Linked DNA regions of Homo sapiens: all the other regions are linked to region 2. The links are contacts of gene promoters, found by promoter capture Hi-C in blood cells and fetal thymus (Javierre and others, 2016). All regions are on one chromosome and are shown on one strand. Each heading gives the region's core, a stretch centred on a gene start or on the middle of the fragment in contact. The rest is flanking DNA. Distances are from core to core; before and after follow the strand shown. Region 1 has its middle 19 kb from the start of LINC02794. Region 2 holds the start of SLC5A9 (solute carrier family 5 member 9). Region 3 overlaps SPATA6 (spermatogenesis associated 6). Region 4 overlaps SPATA6 (spermatogenesis associated 6). Region 5 overlaps LINC02794 (long intergenic non-protein coding RNA 2794). Region 6 overlaps TRABD2B (TraB domain containing 2B). Region 7 has its middle 15 kb from the start of TRABD2B.

The links. Contacts are between HindIII fragments. The CHiCAGO score rates a contact against its expected background, and 5 or more counts as called.
Region 1: a contact is called between a fragment that was not itself captured here and the fragment with the promoter of SLC5A9 in region 2, in 1 of 17 cell types (neutrophils). The highest score is 5.0, in neutrophils.
Region 3: a contact is called between a fragment that was not itself captured here and the fragment with the promoter of SLC5A9 in region 2, in 2 of 17 cell types (neutrophils and monocytes). The highest score is 9.4, in neutrophils.
Region 4: a contact is called between a fragment that was not itself captured here and the fragment with the promoter of SLC5A9 in region 2, in 1 of 17 cell types (neutrophils). The highest score is 5.0, in neutrophils.
Region 5: a contact is called between a fragment that was not itself captured here and the fragment with the promoter of SLC5A9 in region 2, in 1 of 17 cell types (monocytes). The highest score is 5.1, in monocytes.
Region 6: a contact is called between a fragment that was not itself captured here and the fragment with the promoter of SLC5A9 in region 2, in 1 of 17 cell types (neutrophils). The highest score is 5.0, in neutrophils.
Region 7: a fragment that was not itself captured here is called in contact with the fragment with the promoter of SLC5A9 in region 2 in 2 of 17 cell types (monocytes and neutrophils); the score reaches 5.7 in monocytes.

The regions. Positions count from the first base shown.
Region 1 is chr1:48,028,909-48,032,049 of GRCh38, reverse strand. No RefSeq gene overlaps it. Among named protein-coding and RNA genes, the nearest start is that of LINC02794, 19 kb to the left of the region's middle. The HindIII fragment of the contact is 7,414 bases long and covers 1-3,141 here.
Region 2 is chr1:48,221,162-48,224,452 of GRCh38, reverse strand. It overlaps SLC5A9 (solute carrier family 5 member 9), which reads right to left and starts at 1,737. Exons shown (of 14, transcript NM_001011547.3): 1 at 1,555-1,737. The coding sequence starts at 1,716. The HindIII fragment of the contact is 4,425 bases long and covers 487-3,291 here.
Region 3 is chr1:48,462,459-48,465,717 of GRCh38, reverse strand. All of the region lies in intron 1 of SPATA6 (spermatogenesis associated 6), which reads left to right. Among named protein-coding and RNA genes, the nearest start is that of SPATA6, 8.1 kb to the left of the region's middle. The HindIII fragment of the contact is 2,171 bases long and covers 432-2,602 here.
Region 4 is chr1:48,444,862-48,447,815 of GRCh38, reverse strand. All of the region lies in intron 3 of SPATA6 (spermatogenesis associated 6), which reads left to right. Among named protein-coding and RNA genes, the nearest start is that of SPATA6, 26 kb to the left of the region's middle. The HindIII fragment of the contact is 199 bases long and covers 1,257-1,455 here.
Region 5 is chr1:48,059,857-48,062,872 of GRCh38, reverse strand. All of the region lies in intron 4 of LINC02794 (long intergenic non-protein coding RNA 2794), which reads right to left. Among named protein-coding and RNA genes, the nearest start is that of LINC02794, 12 kb to the right of the region's middle. RefSeq lists an enhancer at 1,288-1,832. The HindIII fragment of the contact is 2,187 bases long and covers 338-2,524 here.
Region 6 is chr1:47,973,238-47,976,315 of GRCh38, reverse strand. All of the region lies in intron 2 of TRABD2B (TraB domain containing 2B), which reads left to right. Among named protein-coding and RNA genes, the nearest start is that of TRABD2B, 23 kb to the left of the region's middle. The HindIII fragment of the contact is 2,654 bases long and covers 199-2,852 here.
Region 7 is chr1:48,010,970-48,013,915 of GRCh38, reverse strand. No RefSeq gene overlaps it. Among named protein-coding and RNA genes, the nearest start is that of TRABD2B, 15 kb to the right of the region's middle. The HindIII fragment of the contact is 941 bases long and covers 1,141-2,081 here.

The DNA.
Region 1 (3,141 bases), core at 61-2,560, 190 kb after region 2:
CCCTACCTCTACTAAAAAAAAAATTAGCCAGGCAAGGCACGGTGGTGCATGCCTGTAGTCCCAGCTACGCAGGAGGCTAAGGTGGGAGGATCACTTGATCCCAGGATTTTGAAGCTACAGTGAGCTATGATCTCACCACTCCACTCCAGCCTGGGTGACAGAGTGAGATCCTGTCTCTTAAAAAAAAAAAAAATTCACAATGTTGCGCAACCATCACCATTATCCATTTCCAGAACATTTTCATCATTCCAAACAGAAACTCTGTATCCATTAAACAATAACTCCCTGTTCACTAACCCCCAACACACACATACCACTATTCTACTTTTTGTCTCCATGAATTTGCCTATTGTAGGTACCTCATAACAGTGAAATCACACAATATTTGTCCTTTTGTGTCTAGCTAATTTAGCATAATGTTTTCAAGGTTCATCCATGTAGTAGCACATGATAGATTTTCTTCCTTTTTAAGGCTGAATAATATTCCATTGTATGTATATACACATATTAATTTACCCATTTACCCATTGATGAATATTTGGGTTGTTTCAACTCTTTGACTATTGTGAATAACACTGCAATGAGCATTGGTAAATACGTGTCTGAGTCCTTGCTTTTAATTCTTTGGAGTACATACTAAAAAGCGGAATTGCTGGGTCTATGTTTAAGTTTTTGAGTAACTGCCATACTGTTTTTCACAGCAGCTGTACTATGGTATATTCCCACCAGCAATGATGTGTGTGGTCTCGAAGTAGGAGTTGCCTCCAGGGGTACCTGGCACCCTGCTTTGAAGATGTTCCTCAAAGTAATGGAAGCAGAGTGATGATGAGGAGGGCAAGCCTGGAGGAGGTGCTCAGCATGGGGAGGGCCCAGAAGCCACACTGAGGAGGCAGTGGAAGGCCCAGAGTGTGGGTCTGGCCAGAAAGCCCTGGAGGATGTGACAGCTGCCATTATATGTCCACCATGCTGCCTGGGGGCAGAGTGGGCAGCCCCAGAAACAGAGAGAAGTCTGGGGAGAAGAATTCTAGGGAAACTAGATCCATTTCCATATGAAGAAAAGGAAGGCTTTCTGAGAGTCAGGGCCATTCGGTGACATGAGCAGGGAGCTTTCCATCACTGGAGGTGTGCCAGGAGCAACTGATGGCCTTTTGGACAAGAGGCCAAAGGGCATAGGAGGTTGGACCAGATGGCCTCTGCGAGTCTGTAGAGCACTGTGTTCTGAAAGTGTGTGACTCAAGGATTCTGTAGCTGGATTCCATTTAAGCCCATTTGTGGGCAAAGATTCTATGACTTGCTATTCCTACCCATCCAGACAAATCCTGCCCTGGCTTCTCTATGTGAGCCGTATTGGCAAGGACCCCTTATTGGCAAGTACATTGCTCAGCCTAAGCAGAGGTGAGCTTCATTTCCATTTATTATGTGACTCTATACATTCCTGTGACTCCCATCTACATTTTCAATTGGAAATAATACCATATGCCTACAAAAAAGAAAGATGCAGGGAATGGATTTGGAAACCGTGCAGAGGTGGGCAGGGGGCAGAGGGAAAAGGTACAAGGAGCTTTCCTGTCTGGCCTTCAAGGGCATCCAGAGCCTGCCCCTTCCCCACCACCTGTGTCCCCCACCCCTGCCTCTGGCCTAGGTGCAGAACTAACTTTATCTCTGTCTCTGCTGGGCACTCAGCCTCCCTGCTGCTGCGGTGCTCTCTTTTGTACTCTTCTCTCCTTCCAATCCTTCAACTCACGCTCCCTGCCAAGCCTGCTTCCTGGGATACCTGCTCTGATTCTCTCCGCCTATGCAAATCCTACCCATCATTTATGGCTCACCCAGAAAGCCCACAAAGGCCTTCTCCCATAAAGTTTTGTATGCTGAGATGCCACTCCATGCAATCATTCAAAGATATTTATCTATCAAGTGTTCAGCACCAGGAGTGCTAGAGGCACTGGGGATATATCAGCAAAGAGAGTCAACATCATCTCTGCCATCACTGAGCTTCGATTGTAGCTGGAGACACCAGAAAAGAAATACGGAAGCAAATACACAAAATTTCTTGGTATAGAGATGATTAGTGTGAAAACGATAGAATAGCAGATATAACAGAGGCTACTCTGTAGAATGGTCAGTGAAGACCTCTCCAAGAAGTGATATTTGAGCTTGAATTATGAAAGCAGCCAGCCCTGAGAGGATCTGGAAGAAGCCTTCCAGGGGAGTACAAAGACAAAAGTGACAGACTAAGGTTAGATTGTTCAAGGAACAGGAAAGTGGCTACTGTGGCTGGATCATGGAGAACAAGACAGAGTGGAAGATGTGGCAATAGGAAGACAGGCAAGAGTGGTGATTTAAGACATGGTAAAGATTGTAATTGGAAGCTATTTGAGAGTTTTTTTTTTTTTTTTTTTTTTTTTTTTTAGGGACAAAATCTTGCTCTGTTGCCCAGGCTAAAGTGCAGTACCACGACAATAGCTCACTGCAGCCTCCAACTCCTGGGCTTGAGTGATCTGTTTGAGGGTTTTAAGCATAGGAGGGACATGATCTGATTTATAATGGCAAGAAGATGCCATGGCTGCTGCGTAGAGAATGGTTTGTAGTAGGAAAGGCTGGAAGCAGGGAGGCCAGTTAGGAGCCCACTGCAGCAGACTAGGCAAGAGACAACAGTGGCTTGGACCTGGGAGGTAGTGATGTGAATGGTGAAGAGTCAGATTGGCCAGGCGTGGTGGCTCACGCCTCTAATCCCAGCACTTTGGGAGGCCAAGGCAGGGGGATCACAATGTTAGGAGTTCGAGACCAGCCTGGCCAACATGGTGAAACCCTGTCTCTACTAAAAAAAATTAGCCAGGCATGGTAGCATGTGCCTGTAATCCCAGCTACTTGGGAGGCTGAGGCAGGAGAATCGCCTGAAACTGGAAGGTGGAGGTTGCAGTGAACCGAGATCGCACTGCACTCCAGCCTGGGTGACAAGAGTGAAATTCCATCTTAAAAAAAAAAATCCAAAAGAGACAGATTTGAGATAAATTTTAAAGTTACAATAGCCTGGGGTTTGAGAGAAGAAGCTCTTTCTACTCAGAACTCACTTGCATGTCTCATCTTCACACAGGGGAACAAAGCCATCGTGTTTGCATGAAGCCCATTCTATGAACAGGC
Region 2 (3,291 bases), core at 488-2,987:
GATTGTGCACTCTTGTCCCCTTATCCTTCCCTCCCCAAAGTGCGCTTTCAGAGTATGATTTGTTATCACCTCCTTAGATGTGTAGTGCTCACCCTTTCTCTGAGCTGATCCCCTCCCTGCTCCCAGCTGAGCTCCCACACTGGAGGCGGGAGGACAGAGAGGGCTGCAGTTTGACTGTGAGACTTTGAGCCCTGAGTAGAGTTATGGGTACTGTTTTGGAGTTTCCCTTGCCCTGGGTTGAAATCAGATCACGCCACTGAGCCCCATCCAGGACCTCCCTGTCTTACACCAGTAGGTGGTCAGTTAGCAGCCTGTTGGAATATTCTCTGGAGATACAGGGTGAGGGCAGGGCAGTGGGTAGGGAAGGATGAACTTGAAGCAGCTATTCAGATGCAAAAGCCAACAGTTCTCTGACTTTCCCCTAAGGGAAAATAATCAGTCACGAGGGAGTGATAAATATGTGTGGGGCCTTGTGCTTGTTAAGCTTTTGCTTGTATTTTCCTTGTCAGCTCTGATCCTCTTGGAGGCCATACGAGCAAAACAGATCCATTTTACAGATGTGAAAATGGAGGCCCAACATTGGAAGCAATTTGTCCAAAGTCACAGAGGAGTTGGTGCTTTTCTCGGCTGGCCACTTCCAGGAGCCAGTGACCATCTGTTAGCCCAATTCTTCCTCACACCAGCACTAGAAGGCAGGGACTGTTCACCCCCCTTTATAGATGAGGAAACTGAGGCTCAGAGAGGGTCTCTGACCTGGCCACAGCCTAGGAAGTGACCATCTGGGACTTGAATCACAGCAGAGTCTAAAGGTGCTCACACTTCTGTGGAATGCGTGGTGATAATAGCAGCCATTTATTGCCTGCTGATCGGGCACCAGGCACCGTGCCAGGTGCTGCAGTATGTCCTGTTGCTGAATGATCACAGCATAGTCCTTATTCTCATTGTTCACCTGAGAAAGCTGATAGGCCTCATATGTTCCCAGGGACATGAGGCTCTCATTGTTGCAGCTGGGACCTGAACTCAGGTTTCCCTGACCCCAAAGCCTGGCCCCTGCCTCTAGCACTGAGGCTCCTGGGAACAATGGAGAACAGAGGAACCTTGGAATAAGCCTGGCACACTTCCCTGAGAGCACATGAGCCCCTTCTCATTTAGAAATCACCTTAGCCAAGATGCTAACGAATGCAGGACTGAGGTAGGGCCAGGGGTCAAGAGTTCTCAGAGTTGGGGGCCTTGGGGTGGGAAGAAGGAAGGAGTGAGGCTCAGGGCAACCAGGGATGGTTGGGGCCAAAGGCAGCAGGTGCTCAGAGAGGAGTCAGGAGTCGGGGGCCTGGTCTGCCTCTGACTCTCTGTGTGACCTCAGACCAGCCACACCCCTCTCTGCCCTTCTAAAAATGAGGAGATCAGGAGCCTGATTCCTGAAGGCCCTTCCTTCTCAGCCACATGGTTCTATGATCTGCTTCTTTCTGCCTAGCCCTGCCCCAGCTCCACAGCCCCACCCAAGCTGAGAGACCACTACTACCTCCCCTGCTAGCCCCAGCCTCAGGGCCCACTTACCCAGATCCCCACAGCAATGACGAAGACAAAGTAGATGACCACCACGCTGATGTCGTAGGCGTGCAGACCAACTCTGGAGTCCAGTGCTATGTGTGGAGCTGTCTCAGTCCTGACCCCGTCCCCTGAAGCTCCAGGCCCCATTGCTGCCAGCTCCTTGCTCATCTGTTAGTGTTGGTCAACAGCAGGCTGGACTTTGAGGCGCTCCTGGCTTCATTCCTTTCCTTTAATGATTAAACTGCCCCAAGCACCATTAGTTGGTGAGAAAACTCTGAGCCCTGCTGGCACATACAGTCCTGCCTCCTTTTCTCCCAACTGCCACCACCAACCCCTGCAGGACTCCTTCCTTCCTCTTCCTTGCTGCCACTACGTGCACACACATACATGCATGTGTACACACAGGCACACACATACACGCAATCTCCCTAACCCCAGATGAGCAGGAGGAGAAAGGAGGGGGAGGAGGAAGAGGAGAAAAGGAGCAGAATATTGGAACCCCAGAGGTGGGAAGGACTTCAGAAATCAAAGTGTTCAAACTCCTGTGTGGTGGGAAAACCAAGGCCCAGGGAAGTAAAGGTGGAGCCGGGACTGGAGTCCAATTTTCTTAAGAGTTCAATACAATTGTCTTTTACCTAGTGAGAGGAAGACAAGGGGAAGGAGGTGAGGAGTCTACTGTGACCCTAGCAAAGTGGCCACCACCTCATGTACTCCCATTCCAACCTACCTAGATGTTGCTTTCTCTTTTTATATAGTGTAGGAAACTGAGGCTGGGGAAGACATCATCATTTATTCCAAGGAACTAGGCAGGGCCATCTCTGAAAAGGCAGAGCCAGAATTCACATCTTCTGATGCCTGACCCATACTTCCTATTCTGTACTGTGACAGATGAAATGGTTGTGGTCAGGAGGCCTTCCCTGAAAAAGATACAGTGCTCCCTGGGTCCAGGGAAGACCATCTCTGGGACTCAGGCAGCCTAGATTTCAGTCCCAGCTCCACCTCTCACTGAACTACAGATGCCCTTGGGCAGGTTGCTAAATGTCTCTGGGCCCGGGTGTCCTCATCAGTGTGACCTGTGCCCTGCCTGCCTCACACCACCAATGAGGCTAAGATGTGCTCCTGAGAACCTCTGCAAACCCTGAGCTACTGAATGTTCTTGGGGTTAACACAAAGAAACCAACATCGACCACCATCTAGCCAAGGGGCCCAGATGCCACGCACTTAGATATCTGCTCACATGGTCCTTCCAAAGTAGCTGCATTTGGAATATTTCAGTCTTACAAATATTACTCTGCATGCATCTGCTGTAGGGCCCAGACTGGAGCAGCAGGAAAACAGATCTCACTGGCCCTGTCCCACACCCCATCCCCAGCTCTCACTGGCCCTGTCCCACACCCTATCCCCAGCATCTTATAAGTATCCCAAGGCTGGGTGTGAGGACCAGATCCTCTTTTTTCCCCTTTTGGTGGAAAGAAAAGTGAGAGGCAGGGTCCTAGGCCTTCTCTCCCCAGTTCTCCTATCCCAGAACATCAGGCACTGGCCAGGCTGAGCCCCGAGGAGAGGGATATTGATCTGGGAGAGAGGTCAGCATAGTCCCCAGCTGGACAGGGCTCTGTGGGATCTAGCACCTGTTAGGATTAGATACCAGAGGAAGAGTCCTTCATATACACGTTTAAAGGCAAGTTTATCAGACGAACAGGGATGCAGGAGGGGCAGCATTAGAAACATCAGGAAAATGTGATG
Region 3 (3,259 bases), core at 268-2,767, 240 kb before region 2:
TTTATCATCTCACGTTTGAAACTGCCCATTTCACATAGATTCTGTGTATAGGTGCAAATATATCTTCCAGTGTAGTCTTGCCCAAGCATTTACATGTTAGAAATATGTATTTTCTTATAAAGTATTTCTGTATTTTTTCAAACTTTAATTAGGATATTGGTTTATTGTTTAGTTATATGTATAGGTAAGTTGAAAATATTTTCTGTAAAAGGATGATTTTGGGTCTTATAGAATGGTGACCCAGTGCTCTAGGGAGTAGATCTAGAAATGGAACTATTGAGTCTCAGGGTATCCGGTTAGTTTCCTAGGACTGTCATAACAAATTATCACAAACGTAGTTGCTTAAAACAACAGAAATTTATTCCCTCACATTTCTGGAGGCCAGAGTACAAAATAAAAGTGTCAGCAGAACGGTGCTCCTTTCAAAAGCTTTAGGGGAGAATCTTTCCTGCCTCTTCTAGTTTTTGATGGTTCCAGGCATTCCTTGGATTGTGGCTGCTTAACTCCAATCTTGGATCCTAGAGGTTTCCTTTTCTGTGACTACCAATATCCTTTGTCCTTTAAAAGTGTATTCTTGTTTTCTTCTTCTTGTTAAATATATTTTGGATACTAAACCTTTATTGGTTATGTGTAATGGAATTTTCAAAGATCGTCTAGTTGAAGTTTATATTTTACTTTGTTTTTGCTCTTTTTAGTACTGCATGTTTTTCATTTTCTAATTTTTTCGTTTCTGGTAAACAAAGAATGCTATTGATTTTTAAAATGATTATTTTACTTGACAAACTTGTATATATTTATTGCGTTATTGATTTTTTAAATTAAGTTTTTTATGGAACTATAGCATATATTCATAAAGTACACAAATCGTAAATGTATAATCACCAATAATTAGAATATTATCAGAACCCCAGATTGCTCCATTGGGCTGTCTCCCTCCCGCCACTTCACCTACCCCTGTTCCTCTCCCAAAGGTAACCACATCTTGACTTCTCTTACAATATATTTTGAAGTTTTGAAATCTAGCTATATCTATCTATGATCTGTCTATTTTGTATGGTCTGAATTCTTTTATGTCTAACCAATTTGTGGGAGTTTATCCTTGTGGTTTATGAGGCAATAGCCCTTTTTTCCCTTCTTAAATGAATATAACACTATTTATTCTTCCTATTGTTGATGGACATTCTCATTGTTTCTAGTTTGGGGATATTACAAATTGTGCTCCTATGAGCATTCTTGTATATATCTTTGTTGCACATTTTATATTTTAATTTTGGATGCAACATTAAATAACATGAAATAACATTATTTCAATAGTTGTATTTTTTATGTGGAAAATGACGTTGTTTGAAAATAGACAGTTTTGACTTTTGCAGTACAATCCTTTGTTTTGTTTTGTTTTGTTTTGTTTGCCTTGTCTTTATGTTGATGGCTAGAATTTCTAGTATAGTGTTTAATGTTAGGGATAACAAAGTAGGTATCTTTGTCGTTTTTTCTAATTTTAAATTATGCTTCTGAAGTCTCACCATCATTAGACCAAATCCTATGAAATCGCTGATAATGGGCCATTTTTTTGGCTTAAAAAAACCTCAGCCATTTCAAATGTAGTTGAACCTAATAGAATATTGGCTGTAGGGTTTTCATTTATTGAGTTAGTGCAGTTCCCTTCTATTCTAATTTTAAAAAATCCTGAATGTTGAGTTATTTGGGATGTTTTTTTTTAATCCAGTGAAATTATTATATAATAATGCTTTCATAGTCTGTAAAAAAATGACACTTTTTGATGTTGAACTATTCCTATTCCTGTAATAAGTTCTTTTAAGTCAGGATGTACAGTTTTTACTCTATTTTGCTGGATTTGGTTGGCTAATTTTTTATTTAGGATCTTTTATTTGTATTTGTAGAGAGATTTTAGCTTTATGAGTCAACTACTTTTTTTCACTTATTTTTAAAACATTTATTTTGAAATATTTCAGACATATAGGAAGTTATAGAGTAACATTTAATGAACACCTGTGTACCCATCCAGGTGAAGCATCCTGTAAATCTCTGCCTAATAAAATCCCTTTTTCCTTCTTCTTTTTGGCCAATCGGTATCCTGAATTTTGTATTTACCACTTCTCTGCAATTTGCAATATTTTTTCTCATTGTAATATCTGCCTTTAAGGCACTTGATTTGCTTCCAGTTGCTGTTTAACTGGCATCTCAAAGCTATTGATAATGTTTTAAAATCATTTGGCTCTAAATATTTTATAATTTTTATTATGATTTCTACTTTAGCTTATGAACTATCTAGGATTTGTTTTAATTCCAAGATGCATAAGATTTACGTGTGTGTAACACTCTCCCATACTCATACTCTCCCCCCTACCTATACACATACATACCTACACATATACATATATATTATCTTTTATTGTGGTATTTTAATGAATTGCATTGGGGTCATGTATTAGGGTTCTCCAGAAAAACAGAACCAATAGGATATACTATATAGTTATTTAATAGGGAATTTATTATGGGGATTGGCTCACTTGATGACGGCTTTGCAGTCCCATGATATGCTGCCTGCAAGCTGTCTGCAAGCTGCAGAACCAGGGAAGCTTGGTGATGTAATTCAATCTGAGTACAAAGGCCTGAGAACCAGGTGTAAGTCTTGGAGTCTGAGGGGTTGAGAACCTGCAGTTCTGTTATCCCAGGGCAGGAAAAGATGGATGTCCGAGCTCAAGGAGAGAGAGCACATTTGCCCTTAATCTGACCTTTTGTTCTATCCTTGCACTCAACAGATGGTATAATCCCTGCCCACATTGGTGAGGGTGGTCTTTGTTACTCAATCTGCTGATTCAAATACTAATCTCTTATGGAAACATCCTCACAGACACACCAAGAAATAATGTTTACCAGCTACTCACGTATCCCTTAACCCAGTGAAGTAGATACATAAAATTAACCATCATAGCTAGTGAACAAGGTCTCTATGTTATTATGTTTGTTATTTCCTTTGTGTCCTGATACTTATCCAATTGTTGTAAATGCTCTCTACTTGCTTAAAATAATATATAATCTCATTTGTTGGATGTATGGCTCTATCTGTCATTATCACACCAATCTTACTTACTCTGAAATTCAATTCCATATTAAATTTTTTGTCTGCATGATCTACCCATTTGTAATGGAGAGGTATTAAAATCTTCACTATGATTATGTATTTTCACTTTATCCTTGATGTATTTCAGTACACTGTGATGTATAGAGCTGTGGA
Region 4 (2,954 bases), core at 107-2,606, 220 kb before region 2:
GATTTCTTCTTTGACCATGGGTTCTTTTGAAATAACTTATTTCCAAATATTTGGGGATTTCCTATATTTCTTTCTAAAGTTAATTCTAATTTAATTCTGTTGTGGTGAGAGAACATAATTTGTAGGATTTTAACTTTTTTACATTTATTGAGACTTGTTTGTGGCCTATCCTATGATCTTGAGGATGTTCCAGTGCACTTGAAAAGATTGTGTGCAGTTGACCTTTGAACAAGATGGGAGTTAGGGGTGCCGTCTCCCCATGTAATCGAAAATTCATGTATAATGTTTTTTTGTTTTGAGATGGAGTCTCACCCTGTCACCAAGGCCGGAGTACAGTGGTGCGATGTTGGCTCACTGCAAGCTCCATCTCTCAGGTTCAAGTGATTCTCCTGCCTCAGCCTCCTGAGTGGCTGGGACTACAGGTGCGTGACACCATGCCCGGCTAATTTTTGTATTTTTAGTAGACATGGGGTTTCACAATGTTGCCCAGTCTTGTCTGGAACTCCTGACCTCAGGTGATCCGCCCACCTTGGCCTCACAAAGTGCTGGGATTACAGGCATGAGCCACCGTGCCTGGCCACGTATAACTTTTGACTCCCCCAAAAGCTTACCTACTAATAACCTATTCTTGACCAGAAGCGTTACCAATAACATAAGCAGTCAATTAACATATTTTTTGTTATATTATATACTATATTCTTATAATAAAGTAAGCTAGAGAAAAGCAAATGTTATTAAGAAAACCATGAAAAAAGAAAATATATTTACTCTTCATTAAGTAGAAGTTCATCATAAAAGTCTTCATCATCATCCTCATGTTAGCAGGCTGAGGAGGAAGAGAAAGAGAAGAGGTTGGTCTCGCGTCTCAGTGGTAGCAGAGGTAGAAGAAAATTCGTGTATAAATGGACCTATGCAGTTCAAACATGTGGTTCAAGGTCAACTGTATTTTGCTGTCATTGATTGTGTTAATCTATGTCAATCTATTTCTGTCATTTAAGTTGATAATGTTCAAGTCTTGTGCATTCTGATTGTATTCTTTTGGGAGGGTTGGTTGTTTTACTGATTACTAAGAGAAAGGTATTTAAATGTCTAATTATAATTATTGAATTATTTCTTCTTTCATTAATATCAGGTTTTGCTTCATATAATCTGATGGTTATCAATTTATTGCACCTAACCAAATTCAATCTTCTTTCCTGTTCTGTGGAAATTGACTTAAACCCTTAAATTTTTTTTCTCTACCTGGCACTGAAGCTTTGTATATTAGAGGACCCTGAAGAAATACTGCAGGGGAACAGATTTTGCTTCCAGGTACCAATGTATTCATTTGACTTTTTCCAGCACCAGGCTTCTGAAGCCCTTGTAGCTTCTCAAGTGGCCAGGTATTGCAATACATGGTGGTCTGCAGTGTTTTTCCCCAGCTGGCCTCTCTTTGGATGGTTCTATAGTGAAGCTTCTGATGAAATACCTCCCCGTAAATAGCCTCCCTGCTATCCTAGAGGGAGAATTTCTGGCAAGTTCCAGAGGGCAGATTTTCAGTATATACCACTGGCACGGCAGTAGAGTGATTTCTTTTTCAGTGAGCCCAGACTGTACCCTCTCCAACAAGGTCTGATCTCAACACTGGGGAAGAGGGCTTATGTAGAGTTTCTTTGTTGGTACTCTGAGCCCTAGGGGTAATGGCTGCTTTTCTACCTGCTATTCCTATATTATTTTAAATTCTTTTTACATCTTCCTTGACAGTCTCTTCCTCCTTGAATACCCTGTTTTAGTTAACTGTTCTTTATATTAAACTTTTCCTATGTGGCTTCTCTCTCCTAATTGGACCTAGCGTGATGTATTTATTTTGAGGCTCGGTCTTGATTGCTTATACATTTATAATTGTTATATTTTCTTGAATCTTAACCTAATTTATGGCAGCAAAATTTATAGTAGCAAAATTGCAGTGGTCTCAGGCCTCACATCTTCCCCACCATATCCTTAAGAATAAATAAGAGGTCTGTGTTCCATACTTTTCATCAAGTCTTGAGGTTTATTCTAATCAAAGTAGAAAAGGGGATGTAGTATGCTGTTGGCATAGCCTATGTACACATGTTCTACCTTTCGTTCAGGTGGTACATGTGTTAGCTTTTTTTTTTTTTTTTTTTTTTTTTTTTGAGACAGAGTCTCACTCTCTCTCCCAGTCTGGAGTGCAGCGGCGTGATCTCGGCTCACTGCAAGCTCCGCCTCCTGGGTTCACGCCATTCTCCTGCCTCAGCCTCCCGAGTAGCTGGGACTACAGGCGCCTGCCACCACGCCCGGCTAATTTTTTGTATTTTTAGTAGAGACGGGGTTTTACCATGTTAGCCAGGATGGTCTCGATCTGACCTCGTGATTCACCCGCCTTGGCCTCCCAAAGTGCTGGGATTACAGGCGTGAGCCACCACGCCCAGCCATGTGTTAGCTTTTTAAGAACTACGTAGATCTGTAATGGAAGGGGAAAGGAGGGGAATAGATGCCCTGGCAGCACCTCATAGATGTTCCTACAATGTGTCTCCATAGTACTGAGCCTTTAAATTTAAACACAGAATGATAGCAGAAATGACAGAAATAACCCATTTAAATAAAATATAAAGTCAAGCCAAAATAATCAGTTTGGCTGTATGTCAGTGGAAGCAAAGAGAAGAATTTCAAGTAAGGAAAATTATTGAACCAATGTGGAATCTTCTAGAATTTTCAGCTACCTATTCTAGTACTGGAATTGAGTCATATATACATTTCCTATTGTCTAAAATACAAAACTAATATATGCTTATCTGTCTGCCTAAAATCAAAAATTTATTAATTAAAAATGTTATTAAAAAACAAATTGAACATGCTCCAGATTGTCAAGGGGACCCTAGCACCCCTTTAACTGGAAAGCCTATAAATGGTCAGATCCTTGAGTAACCCCAGATCAAATGATTCTGACAGTC
Region 5 (3,016 bases), core at 182-2,681, 160 kb after region 2:
AACTGCCAAACGACAGCCCAAGGAGTATTTGAAACACAACTTATGTGACTAGCTCCTCTTGCCAGGTACATTTGTGATACCCTACGTCTGAGGAATGACCACCTAAATAACAGAATTTCAGGCACAGGACAGAGAATATATTCTTAGGTAGGAAGCCATTCCAGCACTTGTCAAGCCTCTTCCACCTGCATATGAGCCCACACTTGGGCCTGAAGGCCACCAACACTCTCCTGAGTCAGGCCTGGTCAGGTTCACTAGATGCCAGACTAGGTCACTGGGTATTAATCATTGCCAAGGGAGCCGTTAAACTGAAAGCCAGTTCATTAAAGATTAAGCTTCATCTCCATAGCCCTCCAGGAAAGGGAGTTTTGGGTAGGGAGCCAGGCCCTATTCCAGGAGGTCACCTACTGTGAACAGGAGGCATCAGGAGCATCTGAGTAGAGACAATGTTTGAGAGAACTCTGGGGGCTCCTGAACCTTTGTCCTGTGTCTGTATCCATGACTGCTACTTCAGGTGGGTCTTCAAGAGAACTAGCTATAAACTCTGAAGTGGAGAAGGACCTGCAATGTCAGGTTGTCTACAGGGAATGAAGGGTTAGGAGGCCAGTCTCCCTGGAAAGCATATGGTAAGGAGTCAGAAGGCCTGGATTCTGGTCCTGACTCCATTCTCCATCTGCTGGGGGCCTTGCACAGGGCAGTTCCCCACTCTGAGCTCCTGTTTTTTCCTTTGATGAATGGAGAAAACATTTGATAAGTGGATTTGTAGTGATGCTTTAGCATGGGTTGCCCTGCGAATGATCTATACATGTTTGCCTTCCTCAGTCTATATTAGCTCTGCACCCCCAGGCTGTCTGGCCCAAGTTTCACTTCCTGTTCACAATCTCTGTGGCCAAGGAAAGTTGGCAGTAAATCTCAAATTCACCATGAGCCCTGAATTGCAGAGATCAGATCTCTCTTCCTGGCTCCCCACACTGGACAGATTGCATCTGCCTACTGGCCTAAGAAAACTCTGGAGGAAACTCCTGTGAGCTCACTAAACCTCAAGAGTAAGAATTCCCCATTTGGTCAATTCTTGGTACTTACATTTAGATTATCCCATCCCAATGGAATCTGTTAAGCCAAAGTTTTGCAAATTCTGCAAAGATACAAGACCTTCACAATTTTGATCCAGTACTAAAGCAATGATACAATATGTACTGAGCCAATCAATAAATGGATACAGAATCATCTCATCTCTTATACAAGGTGCCATGGTGATTTCAGGGCTCCAGTGGTGGCCCCCCAAATGGAAATGGCACTATATGCATCCTGGTTTGCAATCAGTGATTTCTGTTAATGTAAGATGTCTGAAGATAATAGTGGTAAACATGATAGATTTTTAAATAGTAGGGTAATAAGGTGAGGGAGACTTTTGGGGCTGTTGACAAAAGCTCTCCTTGCTTTTTCTGCTGCTCTTTAACCAGGCTCTTTATGAAATGAATCTAATCACCTTTCTGTCTGTAGGTGGCAGCACTGGCCCCTTTCACTCTCCAAGGGGGACCTTGATTGTCATTTAGAACAAGTGCTCCTCTCAAGAGCAAATTACAGGACAATGCGAGGATAGAATAAGATAAACTAGCTTCAGAACAAATGTTCTCACACAGTTAAGATGGGATGCATCTGGTGAACTCACAAAACTTCTAAAGCCTCACTCCGCTTACAGAATAGCCCCTTCCAGATTCTAGTAAGAATACAGATCACCAAAAATGTTTTAAGGGACCATTGCAAAGATGAAAGTTGAGGAAGACTCCCCAGAAGCCCATAGGGTCCACAGAACCCAGCTTGAAAACCCTTGAGCAGGGGAACAGCAGACCAACCACCCGAAGACGACACAATTCTCTCCCCAGCCTGTTCTATAACAACCTGGAGTGTCTCACCTTGGGGTCTATTCTCTCAGATATTGCCCAAAACTTACATATGTTGAGTGCTCACTCTGTGCCAGGCATATTGCTAAGCTGGTTACATGCATGTGTCAATTACACCTCATGACAGGTACTTCCACCATCCCATTTTACCAAGAGGAATCAGTGGATCTGAAAGGTTAACTTCCCAGAATATCCAACCATCACCTTGCACAAATGGGAAAACTGAAGAGAGCAGAAGACTGTTGCTCAGTGTCACATGACAAATCAGTGACAGGGCTAGGACGCTGATTTCTGCTGTCCACGGTGAACACCTTAGAATGAAGGGTTTACGGGAACCGTATGATGATGCAGGACTGGGGCCATTGAAATGGGAAGAGGAGGACAGGAATGAGGCTCTAGGCTCAGGACACACCCAATATCTCCTATCAATAGTTTACCCCACCCTCAAAGAAAGTCCTGGGGAAGGAGTCAGGAACGCCCCTTGAATCTAGTGCCAGCTTTGCCCTGAACAACCTGAACAAGCTGTGTGGCCTCAGGCAAGTCCTTTCACCTTTCTGCGCATCTACACCCTCCCCAAAGCAGTGGTGAGTATCTAATGAGACACTGGTAGGAAAAAAGCTTTTAAAAGTATGAAAGCTCCCTTGAAGCTATTATTATTAATTATTATTATTATTACCATCATCATCTTTCATGGTTATTAATGACCTGTTACCTGCTAGGGATCTGTCATCTAGGAATTTCTTTAAGCCCTTCTTGAACCTGTTTATATTCACAGTCAGCAGCACCTCCCTTGCTTTTGATCCCCAGTCTCTAGCCCAGGTTGCTACAGGCAAGATCACTGGCCTATAGGCCTGTGTTTGAACAACTGTTCTCAGTCTTTTTTGTGGGTTGCATCATGGCCAATTGATACAGTGCAATGCAGCCTCATTTCCTCCTGCCAAACCCCATTTGTATGCCCAGGTCTGTGTTAGGGATCTCAGAAAGAAAGAGAGAAAGATACAGGCTTTGACTTCTCAACCTGCCCCTTCCCCGGGCCCAGAAGCCCAGGGTAAGGTGGGGATATAAGACTCCCTCTTAACCACCTATGCCAGGGCTGAGAAGAGCATCCAGAC
Region 6 (3,078 bases), core at 276-2,775, 250 kb after region 2:
TTTGATCCTGGATTTTTCTACAAACCCTGCAGGCCTCCCAGTGTGTAAGGGGTAGAAGGTTGGCTTCTTAGATTATAATTCACTGATTAATTCTCTGTTTTATTCACTCACCAGATATTCCTTTGGGCCATTACTAAGTGCAAGACCTTTTAGAGCAGGCAGAAATTAGGCAGGAAAAGATCTTGCCCCCAGGAAGCTTACAGGTGGAGTAGGAGAGATGGGACAAGAATGCAAATGACACATGAAAAGGAACATGAAGCAGGGGACCTTGAAGGTCTGGAAGGTCTTTTCTGGTCTGGCCCCAGCTCAGCTACCAACCTCCTTTTCCATTGCCCCTCTAGGGAACCCCACAGCTGTACTCAGACTACCATCTGCAGTTAATTCTGGACTCTGTGCTTACCCTGGGGTGCCCTCTGTCCTTCCTCTTGTCACTCCAAATCCTGTTTCCTATTTCAGGTCCAGCCTGGCCCTTCCTGCAGGAAGGCCTCTTTGACTACCCCACTTCCATGATCAGTTTTCTCTGAACATATTTGCCATTTATAGTTTGTATTGCTTCATTTGACCCCTTAGAAGAGTCTTGTGTTTGGCCAGATTTGTGTTTGCCGCTCTAGGACAAGAGCTGGCTGTTAAGCCAAACCCAGGCTTGGGTGTGCAGTAGGCCCTCAGCAGTGCTTGTGGCTGAATGGACTTGAGAACAGTGAGATAACTGAATTCATCCTCAAAAAGGGCAAGATTTGTTATTTTTGTCATTGACCCCAACTTTCCTCACTTAGAACCACTGATGGTTCAGTTTCGGGTGAACCAATGTCTGCCTTTACAATGTTTCAGGTGCACAAAGTAATGATGCAAATGGTATGACCCAGACAGTGCTTAACAGACTTCAGGAATTCGTCTGTTTTCTAGTATCATGCTAAACCCTGTGCTCAGTAAATGCTTACAAAAAGACCTGAAAATATATGTGCAGCATTTATTACTGCACATTCATTCACCTAACAAATGTTTTTTAAATAAACTTTTAATTTTAGAACAGTTTTTGATTTACAGAATTATTGAGAAGATAGTACAGAGAGCTCCCCACACCCAGTTCCCCTGTTATTAGCATCTTATGTTAATGTGGTACATTTGTCATAATGAATGAACCTGATACATCATTATTAACTAAAGTCCATATGTTACTCAGATTTCCTCAGTTTTCCCCTAAAGTTATTTTTTTAATCCAGGATCTTATCCAGGGTACTGTATCACGTTTACTTATCATCCCTTCTTAGAATCCACTTGGCTGTGGCAGTTTCTCAGACTTTCCTTGTTTTCGATGACCTTGACAGTTTTGAAGAGCACTGTCCCTCCATAGGGATTTGTCTGATGTTTTTCTTACAATTAGAGTGGAATTGTGTGTTTTGGGGAGGAAGGCCACAGAGGCAAAGTGCTATTCTCCTCACATCATATCAAAGGTACATGCTAGCAACATGACTTATTACTGTTGATATTAACCTTGATCACCTGGATGAAGTAGTATTTGTCAGGTTTCTCCACTATAGAGGTACCCTTTTTTCCCTCCATCTTTTCATACTGCACACATTGGAAAGGAGTTGCTGTGAACAACCCATTCCTAAAAAGTGGGGAGTTAACTGCTCTGTCGTTAACAAGTGCGTTTTGAAGGCTCAGTCTGCACTGGGCACTGGTACAGATGCTGAAAATGTAGTGGTGAACAAAACATAAAAGATTTATTTTTCCTGCATGGAACTTTTATTCCAGTGAGGATTTAGCAATGAATTAATAAATAATTTTAGGTCATGATAAGGGTATAATGAAAAACAAAAATCAGTAGGCTAGAGAGGGACCAGGCTGCAAGTGGGTGGGGTTTGGATGGGGACAGATGCTTGGTGTCCTTGGGGTTTGGGGAGAAGGTGCCTTAAGAGCTGAATCCAGAAGGATGAGGAGGAGCCAGCCATGAACACCTGGGGAAGGCACATTTTGGGTAGAAGGAACAGCACGTGCCAAGGACCTGAGGCTGCTTAAGGGACAGAAAGGATGTAACTGGAGCCATGCATGTACAGGACATGCATGTCAGGAGATGGAGCAGAGAGGAGATGAGGTGAGATCTCACCTGGCCTACAGGTAATAGGACAGTACTTGGATTTTATTCCAACAGTGGAAGTCATTGGTTTGAAGCAGAAGGTGATCTAATTTACTTTTTGGAGGAGATGCAGACAGAATCTTACTCTGTTCCCTAGGCTAGAGTGCAGTGGTGTGGTGTGATCATGGCTCACTGCAGCCTCGACCTTCCAGGCTCAAGCTATCCTCCTACCTCAGCCTCCCCAATAGTTGAGACTGCAGGCACATTCCACCGCACCCAGCTAATTTTTGTATTTTTTGTAGTGATGGGATCTCACTATCTTGCCCAGGCTGGTCTCGAACTCCGGAGCTCAAGCTATTGGCCCACCCCAGCATCCCAAAGTGCTGGGATTATAGGTGTGAGTCACCGGCCCCGGCCTAATTAAATTTTTAAATGTAACATTGCTTTGCCTGTGGTATGCAAAATGGACTTTCCTGGAGAACAGAATAGAGAAAGCTGGGAGGCCAGCATGGACGCTATTAGAATAGTTCAGGTGGGAGACACTAGTGGTTGACCTGGGGAGGAGTGAGGTAGGTGTGGCTCTGTTTTGGAGGTGAAGCTGAGACATGACTGTTGGTTGCTTGTGGAGATTTCAAGAATCTGGGGTGGCACTTGCACATTTTGGTCCATGGTGGTGCCATTCACTGAAATTAGGGGAGGCTGGAGGAGGAGCAAGTACGAGTATACACACAGTACTTGTAAAATTTCAAGTACTATGTGGTTCATTAGAGAAGCTTCCTGGAATTCGTTTGTTGGCAACATTGTTAGTGGCATCTTCGGGTTACATCATCTACCTGGTGAGATTAGAATAATGCCCTGTTTCTTGATTCCCATGCCCCCTTTCTCCCCAGTAGTCCATACTATTGAAATAGGAGATGCAAATATCAAGTGTGCATGGCTGGGGACCCTGGATGTAAAGTGCACACCAGTTGCCAGAGACCTGGCTGCGGGGGCTGCCCCCT
Region 7 (2,946 bases), core at 362-2,861, 210 kb after region 2:
ATAAAGTGGTTATAGATTTATTAATATCAGACAAAATAGACTTCAGAGCAAGAAATCTTGCCATAGATAAAAAAGGTCATTTCATAATGATGAAGGGTTCAATTAATCAAGAGGACATGACCAAAATGTATATGTATCTAATAGTAGAGTTTCTAAGAACATGAAGCAAAAACTCACAGAAGCGAAAGGAAAAATAGACAACTCCAGAATCATACTTGGGACTTCAACACTCCTCTCTTAATAATTGATAGACTAGGTAGACAAAAAATAAGATTAAGATAACCTGAAAAACATTATAATCAACTTGATGTCATTGGCATTTGTAGAACATTTCACCAAACAACAGATAAACATTCTTTTCATGGGTCCACAGAACATCTATTAAGATAAATCTTATTCAGTGCCATAGGACAAGTCTCAATAAATTCAAAAAGATAAAAATCATACAAAGTATGTTCTCTGACTACAAGATAATTAAATTAGAAATGAATAACAGGAAGAAATCTGGAACACAACCAATAATTTGCAAATTAAACAATGCATTTCTAAATAGCCCATGGGACAAAGAAGAAATCAGAAATGAAATTACAAAGTATTTTTAATTAAATCAAAATGAAAAAACAAATACCAAAATCTATGAAATGCAGATAAAGAAAAATATGTAGAATTAAAGGCATATATTAGAAATAAAGAAAGGATAATTAATGACCTGAGTTTACATCTTAAAACTTGAGAACAAGGAGGGAAAACTAAAACCAAAGCAAGCAGAAAAGGAAGGAAATTACGAAAATTAAAACAGAAAACGGGGAAATAGAATGGAGAAAAATTATGGAGAACATCAGTAAAGCCCAAGCTTGTTATTTGGGAAGATATAAATTTGATAAACCTCTGACCAGATTGACCAGGAAAAACAAAAAATAGAAGAGTCAGATTACTAGCAGCAAGAGTAAGAAGAGGGGATTTATTTACAGATCCATTTGATCATTTCAACAGATGCAGAAAATGCAAGGTTATAGAAACCAAGAATAACATACAACTTTTAACTGTATTTTACATACTTTCAAGGAATTGTTGTAAGTTGAAAAATTTTAAATACTATTTCTAAGAGCATTAAAAATCATGAAATGCTTTGGAAAAGCTTTTACGAAAGGTGTACAGATATGTACACTGAATAACTCAAAATATTGCTGAGAGAAGTTTCAGAAAATCTAAACAGAGATAAACCATGCCTATGGATTATAAGACTCAATATTATTAAGATGTAAATTCTCCCCTGATTGATCTAGAGATCATGACCATATCTATCAAAATCCCAGGAGACTTTTTGCAGAAAGTTGATTTTAAAATTTATATGAAAATACAAATAATTTGATAGCCAAACAAATGCTATAAAGCAATACCTGAGACTGGGTAATTTATAAGAAAAGAGGTTCAACTGGCTCACAGTTCTGCAGGCAGTACAGAAAGCATACAGGCATCTGCTTGTGGAGAGGCCTCAGGGAGCTTTCACTCATGGAGGAAGGTGAAGCAGGAGCAGGCACTTCACATAGTGAAAGCAGGAGTAAGAGAGAGAGAAAGAGAGAGAGAGTAGAAGGGAGGTACCATATGCTTTTAAATGACCAGATCTCATGTGAACTCAGAGCGAGAGCTCTCCTATCACCAAGGGGATGGCCCAAGCCATTATTGAGAGATCAGCCCCCATGATCCGAACGCCTCCCACCAGGTCCTACCTCCAACATTAGGGATTATAATTCAACTCAAGATTTACACAGGGACAAATGTCCAAACTATATCAAAGATGAAGAACAAAATTAGAGACTTAATACCTGGTTTCATGACTAAGTATAAAACTATAGTAATACAGTGTGATGTTGCTGTAAATGTAGATATATCTACCAATGGCACAGAACAGAGTCCAAAAACAGACTCACACAAAAATGATAATTGATTTTTGATAAAGGTACCAAGGCAATTCTATACAGAAAGGGTAATCTTTCAATAAATGTTGTCAGGCAAATATGTAGTAAACTAAAACATCATGGGGTGCTGAATCCCCTTAACCTTCAAGTGAAAGCAAAGCTTGTAATCACCCAGCCCACCAATGACTTACATCATATCCACTGTTACAGATTCCACGCCGAGTTCACTCCCAAGTGACCAGAAGATCCATCTCTGTTTCCCCTGGACTCAGGCTATTCAGGGACTGCCAGCTTTGGTAGACAGTGTTCTTCTGTTGCCTAAAGAAAATTCAGCAACTGCTGTGATGCAGCAAATGCCCCGACGGATGGAATTCTCCACTCATCCAAAATATAGGCAACCAATGAAGGGTCTAGATTTGCCTCACAAATCTCAGAATTGATGGTCTTTGTTCCCAGGCTACAAGGGGCTGTAGAAAGAGGGAAATTAAAGATTTTTTTTCCAGATGCTGTGAAAAAAACAAAAAAAGCAAATGGTGTTGGGACATAGATATATCCATTAGCAAAAAGGAAAAGAGAGAGAGAAAGAAAAGGAAGGGGGAATGACGAGGAGGAAGATGAGAAGAAAGAGGAAGAAGTGGGGAAAAGAAGGTGAGAAGGAGGAGGAAAGAAAAGAAGGAGATGAGGAAGAGGAGAAGGAAGAGGAACAAGGGGAGAGGTGGAGGGAGTAGTAGGACGAAGAGGAAAAGAAGCAGCGGCACCCTTGCCCGTGGTCCTTATCTCACAACTCATACAAGGTCCAAGTAAAAACTGATCACTGACCGAAGTGGAAAACCTAAAACTATAAAAATTCTAGAATAAAACAAAGGAGAGAAAATCTTAGTGACCTTGGGTTAGGCCAAGATTTTTTAAACAGAAGAAAAAATGAACAAATTATTAAAGAAGACCATTGATAATTTGGATTTCTTCAAAATTAAAATATTTGCTGTCCAAAAGACACCGTTAAGAAAATAAAAACACAAGCCATGAG